2 separate regions of the Homo sapiens genome follow, and region 1 is linked to region 2. The links are contacts of gene promoters, found by promoter capture Hi-C in blood cells and fetal thymus (Javierre and others, 2016). All regions are on one chromosome and are shown on one strand. Each heading gives the region's core, a stretch centred on a gene start or on the middle of the fragment in contact. The rest is flanking DNA. Distances are from core to core; before and after follow the strand shown. Region 1 has its middle 95 kb from the start of NDFIP1. Region 2 holds the start of SPRY4 (sprouty RTK signaling antagonist 4).

Region 1 (2,733 bases), core at 34-2,533, 120 kb after region 2:
GTTCCAAAACCCACCTGTCAACTGCTTTCTGGGACCATTCCTTGTACCAACTATCACAAATTGGGTTCTCCAGAAGGCAGAGGCTGATATGGAGTTGAGGGTGCATGATGTTTACTAGAGATCAATAACTGTGAAAGGAAAGAGGTGCACGGGAACAGATGTAGGCAGAGGGAAAAGCCAAGCTGCAATGCAGACCTGTCAAATGCGTGGCCAGCCCAGTGCAGAGCTCTGGAGCAAATGTTGCAGCAGAGTTACCCTTGCCAGGCTGAAGTGGCCAGGCCCTGGTGCCCTCATCTCACCTGGCCCCCAGATTGGGCTCCCCTAGGGAGGCCATGGGCTCAGGCAGGACAACCCCTGTGGGAACAACAGCTAGAAGCTCCCTGCTGAGAGCACCGGGCTGGGTACCATGTCTTGCCTTAAGGGAGAGCTGGGTGATGATGGAAAATGAAAATCCTTGTGGCTGATGAGAAACTTCTGGAGAGATTTGAAGTATGGTTGGGATTTTAACAGAAAAAAGAGAAGGGAGAGACCTTCTCAATGGAGAAAGCCCCTGAAGGCTTCCTAGAAGACGGGAGAATGAGAGGCTCTGGGAAAAGGTGGGACTCTTGGGGTAGCCCCATCCGGGAGGCTGTCTTCTGGGCCTGGAGACACAGTGTGGGGTTGGGGAGGGGCCTCATGGAGTCACTTTTAACAGGCTGGAAGCCTCTTGAGGCTCATCATCTATTTGTTTCTCTCTCTTGAAAAATCGTTGTGACTATTCTTGCATAAACCCCAGAGATCTGCATGTGCCATCCACAGAGGGCAGGCTCCCAGTAGTGCCCCAGCTGGAGTCCATGACACTAGCAAAGTTCTTAGAAGGAATATCTGGCACGTAGCATCACTATTGAGAAAGCAGAGGGACTTGCCTCCTCAACCCCTGCAGGAGGTCCTGGCATTCCAACTGGACATCATCACTTCTGCTGATTTCTGCCCAGGAGGGGTCACCACCCCTCCCCCAATGCCCAACTGGCTGCAGGCGGAGCCCTGGGGGTTCACCCACCTCTCAGGAGCAAAAGGCCAAAGCAATGTGGTAAAGCTTCGCTGTACTGTTAACAATTTGAAACGGAGAAGAAAGAAAACCACAAGAACAACCCTTTGACCATCTACACACACCTCACAGTGTCTTGAAATCTACTTCATTGCTCATTTTGAAAGAACTAAAAATGAGGGTCCTCGCAGAGAAGTAAAACACCCCTGACTTGAGAAGACACTAACACAGAGGGGATTTTCTTTTTGCTTTTTATGTTTGCCTTCAATTGCACTTGAATCCAGATAAACACAAAGTCCCGTTGACACCCTCTTCCCCAGTTCCAGTCCCTTTCTGGAGGTGACCATGGTCAGTGTTTATCTTTCCAAATCTGTCTCTATGTATGTACCTACCTATATGTGTACAGATAAAAATAATTTTTGCGGCAGCATAAAAACATATTCTCCATAATAGCCTGAAGCTTGCATTTCTTTTTTCTTTTTCTTTTTTTTTGAGACAGAGTCTCACTTTGTCACCCAGGCTGGAGTGCAGTGGCACGATCTTGGCTCACTGCAAGCTCCGTCTCCCAGATCCAAGAGATTCTCATGCCTCAGTCTCCCGAGTATCTGGGATAAGAGGCGCGCACCACCATGCCTGGCTAATTTTTGTATTTTTAGTAGAGACAGGGTTTCGCCATGTTGGCCAGGCTGGTCTTGAATTCCTGACCTCAGGTGATCCACCCGCCTTGGCCTCCCAAAGTGCTGGGATTACAGGCATGAGCCACCGCACCCAGCCCTGAAACTTGCATTTCTTACACATAAATATATCTTGGAAATCTTTCCATATTAGCAGTGTGGTGGCATTGGAATGCATCCATTTGGGAAGGCTGGATTCTGTCTTCCCTGTATATGGCCAGTTAGGGGGGACCAAGAGACGTTTAGGCTGAGATTTGGATATCCTGTATTGCTGCTCATTTGACGGCTGCAGCTGCTCCACCTGCCCTGTGTCCTCCTTCAGCAGCTCCATCTCCTGCGCCAGGTGTGTGTTTGGCTTTGTGATGAAGGAAGAGGTCAGCTGCTCCCGCAGGACACTTGTACCAACAAGTTGGAGGTGGAGAGAGACTCCTGTGGATCTTGTGGGCTCCTGCTGGTTCTCACTCTTCCCTACTTACATCCCTCTTCTCTTCCTGCCGTGTGGATGCCAAGCTCCAGTGTCAGATGAGAAGGTAACAGCCTTCCCAAGACAGTTTAGCCAGCTCCCCGATTGCTTAAAGTCAAATCCCCATCTCTCTCTCTCTCTGTCTCCCTCTCTCTCTTCCTCTCCGTCTCTCTCTCTCTTTCTCTCTCTCTCTCTCTCTCACACACACACACACACTGTACCTCCTAGTGGTTCTACTGCTCTAATTGAACTGTTGAGAATACATAATGATACTTCATTCTTTATTCTTTTTAACCACCATGAAAATGGCAATGTGATTTAGCCTCTCTCCTATATGAGACCTTTGGGAAGGTCCACTTTGTTCCTCTAACAAACCATGCTATAATAAGCACTCTTGTTCATATTTGTTTGTTTTTTAAACCATATCTATAATTAGTTCTCCAGAAAAATTAAGCTGATGATTCAAAAAGTTTGCATATCTTACATTTTAGGAAGTAGGTCCAAATTGTAGGAAGGCTGCCTGGAACCAATGTAGATAGGGAGCATTGATGCAGTGGTTTTAGTCTCTT
Region 2 (2,802 bases), core at 117-2,616:
ACGCATCAAAGCCACCCCCCGCCCCGGACTTCCCGGAGGCTACAGGCTCCTCCGTTCCAGGGAGGAGCAGGGCCTGCTGCGAGGGCTCCCCGCCTTCCTGGAGTCAGGCCTAATGGCGGGGGCTTTTCTTTTCACCGGCTTGAGCTGATCCTCACCCCCGCCCCCCAACGCCACCATCATTAACAGCGAAGAAAGGATCCCCAGCCATTTCCATTTCCTCTGCGGCTCAAGAGCCCCGTTGTTATTTAATCCTGAGGCCACCCCGGCAGCATCCTCGGCGCAGCCGGCTCCACCCATCCACCTGGCCAGTTCTCGGCCGCTCCCACTTCCCCGGAGGGGAGGCCGGTGAGAGGTGGGGGATATTGGGGAAAGGCGCCTACAACAGCGAAGGGCCGTGGGCCTTCGGTGGACCGAGGCTCCTCAGGCCAGCGTCCTGTGAGGGCTGGGAAACCGACTGGGACAGAGAAAGGACACCTAGCTAGGGCGACAGAGAGCGGGCAGACGCCCGGGCACTGCGGACATTGCACTGGGGCGGGGGGCGGGGGGAACGCTGGGAGGCGAGGGCCAGGCTTCCTCTGGCTGAGTTGCCAGAATCGCCCCGGGGGGTACTGGAGCCGGAAGAGGCCTGGGCCCAGTCACTGTCTACACCCAAGAAATGGGGGGAGGGGCGGCCAGCACTCACGAGAGATTCAGCCTCAGGAAAAAGAACCAGATTCACTCACCAATCCTCACCCCACCCTTTGATATGAATGATGGACATTTTCCTAATTTTTGGTAAACGCAGCTTCAAGACCCCTCCCGCCTGGCGTCTCTGGTCTAGAGCAAGAGAAGGCCCCCAGTAGGGGTCCTCCCGCCCCCCCTTTTGACTGCCTGCGGGGGGCAGAGATCCCCAGATCTAGGTGTGCCCTCCACCACCCTGCTCTCAACCCGGGATCCGGAGGCCGCAGCGTCCCCCACCCCCCAGCGACACTGACGGTTCCTGCCCAGGCCCGCAGTGGCGTGAAGGTGGCCTTTACCTCCTCTCGCAGGCTGGGAGGGGGTGCAGCCCGCGCAGCTGGCCCAGCTGCAGCAGTCGCCGCCGCCCTCCATTCATTAAAAAAAAAAAAAAAAAGGCAACAACAGCCTCCACTGGAACCTCCACCCCTCTTTGTAAAAGAACGACGGCTCCTGGTGGAGCTTGAGCCAGTCCCAGCAATCACGGGTTAAGATCTTTTCCCGCCCCCCATTCATAAAAAAAGGAGCGGAGCGCATGCGCGCTCAGGGTCTGTTGTGCCCACCCATTCATAGAATCGCGAACGGCACGCGTGCGCACTGGCGCTCCCTTCCCTCCCATTCATAAAAAAGCCATTTTCCCAGGCAGTGGTTGCAACATCGCCGCGGAGGTAGCGAGCTGAGCTGACAGCGCGGAGCTGGCGCTGTGGAGCGCAGGGAGCCTTGCCGGTTCCTCCGACCGGCGTCTGCGAGTACAGCGGCGGCTAACCTGCCCCGGCTTCAGGATTTACACAGACGTGGGGCGATGCTTGTGACCCTGCAGCTCCTCAAAGTAAGTCCATGGCTGGTTTGGAGATCTGAAACTGCCCCTCTCTGAGCCGCGACGCGACTCCCCCCTTGGGCTGGGGCAAATGGTGCGCTATTTCTAGGCGCGCCTCAGTGTTCCTTCCCTCAGCCTGCGCCTCCTTGAGTCGCTGCGGTGCGCCGCAGCTCCCTGACGCCCTCGGCCCGGCCGGCACGGCGCCGGGGGTGTTCACAGCCTGGCACCGCCGTTTCCGACCCCTGGGCATTGCCAAGCCCGGCTTCCCCGCCCTCTGAGACTCGGGAAGCCCCGTGCGTGTCCCGGGAGTTTGCCTCTGGCCTGGCCTCTTTCCTTCTCCTGCCACCATCCGCCTCGAACGCTGGAACGGGCGTCTCTGGGCTTGGTCAGGAGCCACCGTTTGGGTCGGGGGGCGCCCTCGCTCTGGGCGGCTCGCCCACCTCCCAGCTCGGTGCCCACGGTGCCAGCTTTGCCGTGTATCTCCCAGCCCGCCGTAGCGGCCTATGCTCGACGTAGATTTTTTCTTTCTCTTCGGAGCCGTGACGGACTGAATTCCCTCCCCTTCTGCCTCTCCCTCGATGGTCAGCGAGGGGCTGGCTCAGGACTGGGCATTCCTACTCCCTCTCCTTGGCGAGGCGGTTCCTCGCCGTCTGACCTTTGCTCCGCTGCCGCATTTTATGCTATGCAACTGCCTTGCAGTTGACTTTTTCTTGCCTGGCCTCTGTAAGGCCTGAGGCTCCTCGGCCACCCTGTACCTCCCTATCCTCGGGCACCGAGCTGTGCCAGGCCCCGGAGCCCCCAGGCCGCGCTAGGGCTGCGGTGGGGGTTGAAGGTGCGTTTACATAACACCAGGCGTGTGGGAGCTGGAGGAAGAGGTTGCGAATGTAGGAGAGATAAGGCTCCTGCTTTCCCTCCTTCCTTCTTGGTGGTACCAGGCTTGACATCACAGAGAAGAGGATAGAGACGGTATGTTCTGACAAATTCTGAATCGCCAAGACCCCGGGGACAGTGAGCTGGGTGAGGGCGGGTTTGGCTAGCCAGGGCAGCTAGAGCTTGGCTCCATCACTGGGTCCAGGGCTGTGCCCAGTTCCCCCTCCATGCAGACGATCAAAAAGCATTTAGACAGTAGCTGCTCTTGTGCAAGAAGACGGTTTCTCAATTCTCCTTGATTGGGGGCAGGGGGTTGTGGGCAGGAGAGGCAGGGGAGACAGAAAATGGTTGCGTGGCTTATAGGGCTGAAGGATGGGCAAGAGAGGCGAAATGGGCTGGAG

The links. Contacts are between HindIII fragments. The CHiCAGO score rates a contact against its expected background, and 5 or more counts as called.
Region 1: a fragment that was not itself captured here is called in contact with the fragment with the promoter of SPRY4 in region 2 in 1 of 17 cell types (endothelial precursors); the score reaches 5.0 in endothelial precursors.

The regions. Positions count from the first base shown.
Region 1 is chr5:142,202,576-142,205,308 of GRCh38, reverse strand. No RefSeq gene overlaps it. Among named protein-coding and RNA genes, the nearest start is that of NDFIP1, 95 kb to the right of the region's middle. The HindIII fragment of the contact is 412 bases long and covers 1,078-1,489 here.
Region 2 is chr5:142,323,585-142,326,386 of GRCh38, reverse strand. SPRY4 (sprouty RTK signaling antagonist 4) reads left to right here and starts at 1,366. Exons shown (of 2, transcript NM_001127496.3): 1 at 1,366-1,543. SPRY4-AS1 (SPRY4 antisense RNA 1) reads right to left here and starts at 1,094. Exons shown (of 4, transcript NR_120664.1): 1 at 1,017-1,094. RefSeq lists enhancers at 1,900-1,959, 1,441-2,403, 2,404-2,802. The HindIII fragment of the contact is 6,861 bases long and covers 1-2,802 here.